Regions from separate parts of the Homo sapiens genome. Here region 1 is linked to region 2. The links are contacts of gene promoters, found by promoter capture Hi-C in human tissues and cell types (Jung and others, 2019). All regions are on one chromosome and are shown on one strand. Each heading gives the region's core, a stretch centred on a gene start or on the middle of the fragment in contact. The rest is flanking DNA. Distances are from core to core; before and after follow the strand shown.

What was found. Contacts are between HindIII fragments. The study calls those that stand out against the background at their distance.
Region 1: a contact is called between a fragment that was not itself captured here and the fragment with the promoter of ACSBG2 in region 2, in 2 of the 25 tissues and cell types used here (lymphoblastoid cells and pancreas).

What each region holds. Positions count from the first base shown.
Region 1 is chr19:5,966,898-5,970,679 of GRCh38, reverse strand. All of the region lies in intron 1 of RANBP3 (RAN binding protein 3), which reads left to right. Among named protein-coding and RNA genes, the nearest start is that of RANBP3, 9.4 kb to the left of the region's middle. RefSeq lists an enhancer at 2,408-2,702. The HindIII fragment of the contact is 6,212 bases long and covers 1-3,782 here.
Region 2 is chr19:6,133,657-6,137,446 of GRCh38, reverse strand. ACSBG2 (acyl-CoA synthetase bubblegum family member 2) reads right to left here and starts at 1,780. Exons shown (of 15, transcript NM_030924.5): 1 at 1,538-1,780. All of the region lies in intron 3 of LOC105372255 (a long non-coding RNA gene), which reads left to right. RefSeq lists enhancers at 1,010-1,912, 1,913-2,816. The HindIII fragment of the contact is 13,898 bases long and covers 172-3,790 here.

The sequences.
Region 1 (3,782 bases), core at 897-3,396, 170 kb after region 2:
GAGTTATACCAGGGTTTTTCCACCTCAGTATTCTTGACATTGGGGCTGGTGGTGGCCATCTTGTGCTTTGGAGGATGTTGGGTAGCCCCTCTAGCCTCTACTCATGTGATGCCATAGCACCCAGTCATCCCACCCATCCACTCCCAGTCATGAGAAGATAAAAGGTCTCCAGACACTGTCCAGTGTCCCCTTAATGTCAGAATTGCCCCCACTTGAGAACCATTGGGTTATGGGATTTCATTGACACCCAAGAGACTTTGTGTTCCATAGTTATCTAACCTACTGAGGTCGTAGGAGCCTGTACACATTTAAAGCCACAGTCTGAGTGGGGAGGGAGAGAGGCGGTGAATCCCAGAAGCCAGGGTGGGGGGTCACCCTGGTTTGTGCCATCTAATCTATTGGGGATTTATTTTGGTGTATAATGTGAGTTAGAGATCCAGCTCAATTTTTTTGCCCAAGATTAATGCAAGGTTTCTTGCCCTCAGCTCAGTTGACATTTGGACTTGGGTCACTTGCTGGTAGGGCACTGTTCTGAGCCTCCTAGGATGTTGGTCAGCATCCCTGGTCTCCATCCACTAGATGTCTGTAACAGTTTCCTCCACACCCCCACAAACATGACAGTCACAATGTCTCCAGATTTTGACCAGTGTCTCCAGGGAGATGAAGTTACTCCTGGGTGAGAACCACTGGTCATAGGATCAAAGGAACCTACCCAGGAATAAATTAATTGCCAGCTAGAGTTTAAGGCCCTTCCTCCCAACCTTATTTTTCTATTCTGGCCTTTTGGCAGCTGAGTAGGCCTCAATGGACATCATATCCCTCTTCAGGAAGAACAGTCTTTTCCTTGACCTTTAACACTGCCTCTGGTCCAGGGTGAGGACCTGACAGAATGTAAGGGCTGGGAAGAACCTTCAGGGATGCCTGAGTCCTGGCTGCACCATTTCACAGGGGCTGAAGCCCGAGGCCATGGAAGCAGGTAGGGCTGGCTAGGGCCAGTGCGCCTGTCTCCAGCCATGGAGTCTAGGAGTTCATGCTTGTCCTTCCCGGTGAGTCAGTAAACTCTAGGTAATGGGCACTCGTTCACCCCTGAAAACTGACCCGCGTAGGGCACTGCATTTCGCTGTCGCTGTTTATGGTGTTCAAAGAAAGGGAGGAAATTCTAGAGACAGTAGTAGTTACTCCATACACATGTTTAGAAGGCAGGCCTTGCCTTTTGCAGTAAGTTTAAAATGCCTTTGCTAAATTAAACTCCCCCAGGTTTGCCACAGAGAATTTTGGGAACTTATTTACCCAGAATTAATTCCTGCGTTGCATCTGTGAGAGCAGAGCGTGAGTGGAAACGGTCCTTGAGAACTTGCCTTTCTCTGGGGGAGAGGGTGAGAAAACAGGCAGTTACCCTCTGCTCAGAGGAGAGAGGATGTTTTGCAGCATTGATGGTGATGGCCACTGGGTCCTAAGAGTCCAGAGCCTGGGCCCCAACCTTTACACTGGATAAATCCAGATTTGTCAGCATGGCCTGCAAGGCTGAACGTCCTGTGGGCTCCACCCAGCCCTTCCCGTTCTCCTCCCCTCCAAACATGGGCCTCCAGGCTCTTCCTTTCCTTAGAACCTTTGACTTGGGGTCCCCTCTGCCTGGGATCCCCTGCCTTCACCTGGCTCATCCCTGCTCACCCTTCATGTGTGAGCTTCAGCGAGGCCTTACCCATTCACTCACTCTCTCCCACCATCCTGTGGTATTTTCTCTGCAGCACCCAGCTCCAGAACTACCCAGTTATCTCTGCACACAGCAGGTACTTGTTTGTTTTCTCTTTCCCAGTAGAGAGCTGCGGCCTTGTCTGCCATTTCTTTCCTGTCTCCAGTGGCAAGCTCGGTGCCTAGCACAAGTCTGTGCTTGGTAGATCCTGCTGGTGAGAGCAAGGCTTGGCTGCTCGGCTCGGCCTGCCTTCAGATCCCACCTGTTTCCTGTGACCTCAGAAGGGCTCAGGCATTCCGAGCACCTGAGCGTTTGCCTTGAGTGTCCCAGGCGTCCAGGCAGCTCTTGGATCCAACCATTCCACCCCCTAAAAGGGGTCAGACTCTGACGCATTTGTCGTTGCCGGGCACTGGCAGCTGTCCTTGAATCCAAGGCCTATGCTTTAAGGTGGCATCAATATGTTTGCAATCTTCCGAGCATAATAATGCTACCAGTGCCAGTGTGGAATCATCCTGTGTGCCAACCACTTCCCCAAACACGGCATGTGCAGCATTTCATTTCATCCTTGCCGAAGCTGCCTGGGGTGAAATAACAGCCCTGATATGCAAATGAAGACATTGTGCCAGAGGTACATTGTCTTATCTGGGATCCCAACCGCAAGTAAGTGGCCAGGGCAGGTTTGAACACACACAAAGACCAGAGCCCGCGCTCTCCAGTATCATCAGTTTTGCTCTGCTGCCTCAGCATAAATTCTGTAGTTCTTGGATTTCCTTCCTGTAAGCTTCCGTGTAGAGAGGAGGGGATTCCTGTTGTCTCTACTGGAACTTTCCCGAGTCTTCAGCCACTTGCATGTTGCCTCAGCTGTGTTGGTGTCACACCACCTAGTGGCGGAACAGAAAAGTGCCGTTAAAGCTGGATCCTCCATCTCTCCACGCAGTTTTTTCTTTTTTCTTTCTTTTCTTTTTTTTTGGAGACAGAGTCTCACTCTGTCGCCCAGGCTGGAGTGCAGTGGTGCTATCTCAGCTCACTGCAACCTCCACCTCCTGGGTTCAAGTGATGCTTGGGTCTCAGCCTCCCGAGTAGCTGGGATTACATATCCCACCAGGCCCAGCTAATTTTTGTATTTTGGGTAGAGACACGATTTCACCATGTTGCCCAGGCTGGTCTCAAACTCCTTTCCTCAAGTGATCCACATGCCTCGGCCTCCCAACGTGCTGGGATTACAGGCATGAGCCACTGAACCCAGCCATCCATACAGTTGTAGGCAGAGTTGCTGACTTTGTATAACTTTATGGGGTTTCTGTTCAGAAGTGCAAGTTCTGCCCCCCGGGGCTTACGGTCTGGGTGGCGCAGGAGTGGAAGCTTAGAAGGGTTTGGCTGCAGGGCTGATAAAGGTAGAAATAAAGAAGGCAGAATGTGGCTTGGCCCTCATGGGGTGGAGTGGGATATGAGGAGGATGTCATGGGGATGCGTCTATGATGAATGAGACTAGATATGTAAAGTACCTACCTCGGAGTCCAGTAAAGGCCTTTTAACAAATGCCTGTTGCCCCTGCAATGCTTGTTGGAAGTGTAAGTATCTGGTGGTGAGATGAGAGTGGTTGGAAGTTGGCTTGGAGTTCGGTAGTTGAAGGTAATGCCAAGATGATGAGCATTCCAGAAAGAAGTACATAAAATGTAGGATATCATCAGCTCCAAAAAGTGTGTCCCCATAATCTCCATGAGACCAGTTGAAAGTTATAGAAATATATTCGAGTATTGAGAAAAGAACGGAGTCATCCAGGGTCCCACCGCCTTCCACTAGCTGGGCTGGAGAACCCGAGCATGCTATACACGGAGATCCGCAGAGGCATCACCTAGCAACTGCATGTTTGAGATCAGTTCCATTCCGTACCAAAGAATCAGTTGGAGGACAGACCTGACACGTCAGTGACAGATTTACCTTTGTGCTGTGGCACAGAACTGTTTATAATAATTTCTGAAAAAATAAATGACTTGAAGGGTTGTGATCGTGTCACCAGATTACAGGAGTTGCCACATTTTAATAGACTGTTATTTGTGTTGGCGAGATGCTTTCCATATTTTTTTCA
Region 2 (3,790 bases), core at 531-3,030:
CGTGGGCCTCCTCACTGTTCTTCCAACTCACCAGGTGCAGTCCTTCCTTGGGGCCTTCGTACGGGCTGTGCCCTCTGCCTGGAACTCTCTTCCCCTCAGATAGCTGGGACTACAGAAGCATGCCACTACGCCTGGCTAATTTATTTTTATTTTTATTTTTGTAGAGCTGGGGGCCTCGCTATATTGCCCAGGCCGGTCTTGAACTCCTGGCCTCAAGCAAGCCCCCCCCCCCCCCCCAACCCCGCCACCTCGGCCTCCCAAAGTGCTGGGATTTGCAGGTGTGAGCCACCACACCAGGCCCCTCTTTTCTTTATAAATTGCCCATCTTCAGGTATTACTTTATGGCAATGCAAAATGGGCAAATAAAATTAGTATCCGGAGTATGAAAAGAACTCTGGATTTAAAAGACAAATGTAAACAACCCAGTGTTTTATGATGAAAAATGTAAACAGGCAGTTCACAAAAAAGGAGCCTGGAAAGGGCTACAAATCCTGGACAAGATGCTCAGTAGCTTTGGTCATCAGGGAACTGCACGTTAAAAATCACACGATCGGCCGGGTGCGGAGGCTCACACCTGTGATCCCAGCACTTTGGGAGGCCGTGGCAGGTGGATCACTTGAGCTCAGGAGTTCTCTACAGAGGACTTGTAAGTTACTAGTAATATTCGATTTCACGAAGTGAAAAGGGCACACAGATATTTATCGTTATTCATTAAATCGTACAGATATGCTTTGTGTTATTTTATATGCATTATATGTTTCACAATTTTAAAAGGCCATGTAGGGTTCAGATGTGGTGACTCACACCTGTAATCCCAGCACTTTGGGAGGCTGAGTCGGGTGGATCGCTTGAGGCCAGGAGTTCGAGACCAGCCTGGCTGGCATGGTGAAACCCCATCTCTACTAAAAATACAAAAATTAGCTGGGCATGGTGGCGCGTGCCTATAATCCCAGCACTTTGAGAGGTCGAGGCGGGTGGATCACCTGAGGTCAGAAGTTCAAGACCAGCCTGGCTGGTATGGCGAAACCCCATCTCTACTAAAAATATAAAAATTAGGCCGAGTATGGCGGCTCACGCCTGTAATCCCAGCACTTTGGGAGGCCAAGGCGGGTGGATCACGAGGTCAGGAGATTGAGACTATCCTGGCTAATGTGGTGAAACCCCATCTCTACTAAAAAATACAAAAAATTAGCCGGGCATGGTGGCAGGCACCTGTAGTCCCAGCTACTCAGGAGGCTGAGGCAGGAGAATGGTGTGAACCTGGGAGGCGAAGCTTGCAGTGAGCCGAGATTGCGCCTGGGCAACAGAGCAAGACTCTGTCTCAAAAAAAAAAAAAAAATTAGCTGGACATGGTGGCAGGCGCCTGTAATCTCAGCTACTTGGGAGGTTGAGGTGGGAGTATCACTTGAGCCTGGGAGGCAGAGGTTGCAGTGAGCTGAGATCGTGCCACTGCACTATAGCCTGGGCAAAAGAGTGAGACCCTGTCTCAAAAAAAAAAGAAAAGAAAACGCATGCCCTTCTCCCATACCACTGGCACCTGTCACTCTTCAAGAGGTGTGGTTCTGGCCATCTGGCAAGGCACCTGGAGCTGGGACATCTGGTCACTCAGGTGTTTTCTTCTTCCTGCAAAGACAGTCAACAGGTAGCCCCTCCTGGAAACCTGAACATGAGCTGCCCCTTCCCAGCCCCCGTCACCCTCTCCGTCCAGCCAGGATGATGGTGGTGGTGGGAGGCAGGAGGATGGGTGGTTTCCCTCCACAACAGGCCTTCTACCCCATTCAACCTTCCAGAACGTTCCATCCCAGCCACCTCTTGTGACATCACTGGCTGCCCCTGCCTCCGCACCCCACCCCCACCCCTAGGGGAAGCTGCTTCCAGGACAGGGAGATTGCTCTTTTCATGCATCATTCATTTATTCATGCATGCATGCACTTCTGCGTTGCATTCGTGACGTTTTTATGAAGCCATGACCCTAATGGCAGGGATTGTGCTGGATGCTGGAGACATAAAGATGAACAAAGCCAGATGAGGCCTGTTCAAGAAAATAAGAGGAGGCCTAGAATCACACAAACAAATGCAAACTTACCATTGTGAAGAGAGCCCCAAGGCATGTTGAGGGCTTGATCAAAGGATCCCGCCCAGGCAGGGAGTCTGGGAGTGGTTTCTTTCTTTTCTTTCGTTTTTTGAGACGGGAGTCTTGCTCTGTCACCCAGGCTGGAGTGCAATGGTGCGATCTCAGTTCACTGCAACGTCTGCCTCCCAGGTTCAAGCGATTCTCCTGCCTCAGCCTCCCGAGTAGCTGGGATTACAGGCGCCCGCCACCACGCCCGGCTAATCTTTTGTATTTTTAGTACAGACGGGGTTTCGCCATGTTGGCCAGGCTGGTCTCAAACTCCTGACCTTGTGATCCGCCCGCCTTGGCCTCCCAAAGTGCTGAGATGACAGGCGTGAGCCACCGCGCCTGGCCTGGGAGTGGTTTCTTGAGCTGGGATCTGAAGTATGCCTGGATGTTATTCCTGCCCTCGTGACTTTCTCTTACGCTGCCTGTCTTCATGTGTTTACAGCGGCCTCCCCCTTCTCGTTCTCTGCTTTAGTCACTGCTAACAATGTCCACTACCAGGCACAGTGGCTTGTGCCTGGAATCCCAGCACTTTGGGAGGCCAAGTCCGTAGCATCACTTGAGGCCAGGAGTTCAAAACCAGCCTGGGCAATGTAGTAAGACCCCGTCTCTACAGAAAAATTTAAAAAATTAGCCGGGCGTGGTGGTGCGCAAGTGTAACCACAGCTAGTAGGGAGGCTGAGGTGGGGGGATTGTTTGAGCCCAGGAGTTCCAGGCTGCAGTGAGCTGTGATGGTACCATGGCACTCCAGCCAGGCCTACAGAGCAAGACCTTGTCTCAAAACAAAAAAGACAAAACAGTGCCAGGTGCAGCACATACTAGATGCTCAGTAAATAAAGATGTAGCAACAGAATCTTGTGCTGTGCCAGGAGAAAAGGACAAGGAGTGTTCCTTTGTCTCCAGGGCCTTTTGTGTGTGTGTGTGAGAGAGAGAGAGAGACGGAGTTTGGCTCTTGTTGCCCAGACTGGAGTGCAATAGCGTGATCTTGGCTCACTGCAACCTCTGCCTCCCGGGTTCAAGCGATTCTCCTGCCTCAGCCTCCCAAGTAGCTGAGGTTACAGGCATGCACCACCACTCCCGACTAATTTTCTGTATTTTTAGTAGAGATGGGTTTTCACCATGTTGGCCAGGCTGGTCTCCACCTCGTGGCCTCAGGTGATCCACCCGCCTCAACCTTCCATGGTGCTGGGATTACAGGTGTAGCCACCGCACCTGGCCACCAGGGCCTTCTTAATGTTTCACAAATATCTACTCTGCAGAGCACCTGGGCAGCTGTGCCAGGACAGCCAGTGTCCACCAATGTCCATTCAGCCCTTCTTCCCCAGAGCTCTCACCTAAAGAGAGAGAATGTTTCCCAGGCCCCCTGACTGCATGGCGTGTCCATGTGACTACATCCTGCCCTGTGGGATGTGGGCATAAGTGGTGGGGGCCATGCCTGGTCATGCCTATAAAGGAAAGGAGGTGACACCCTTCCCCAACCCCCCATCCAGTAGAATCCTGGGATCAGGAGCAGCCTCCTTGGACAGGGGTGAAGCTGGAGGGGAGGGAGCAGGTCAAGAGGTCCCCAACAGGAGGGAAGGGACCTCTGTCTCTAAAGACAGTTGAGCCACTTTGCTGGTGCCAGACAGATTTATGCAAGTTGCACACACGCTCGCTCGCTCGCTCAGACAC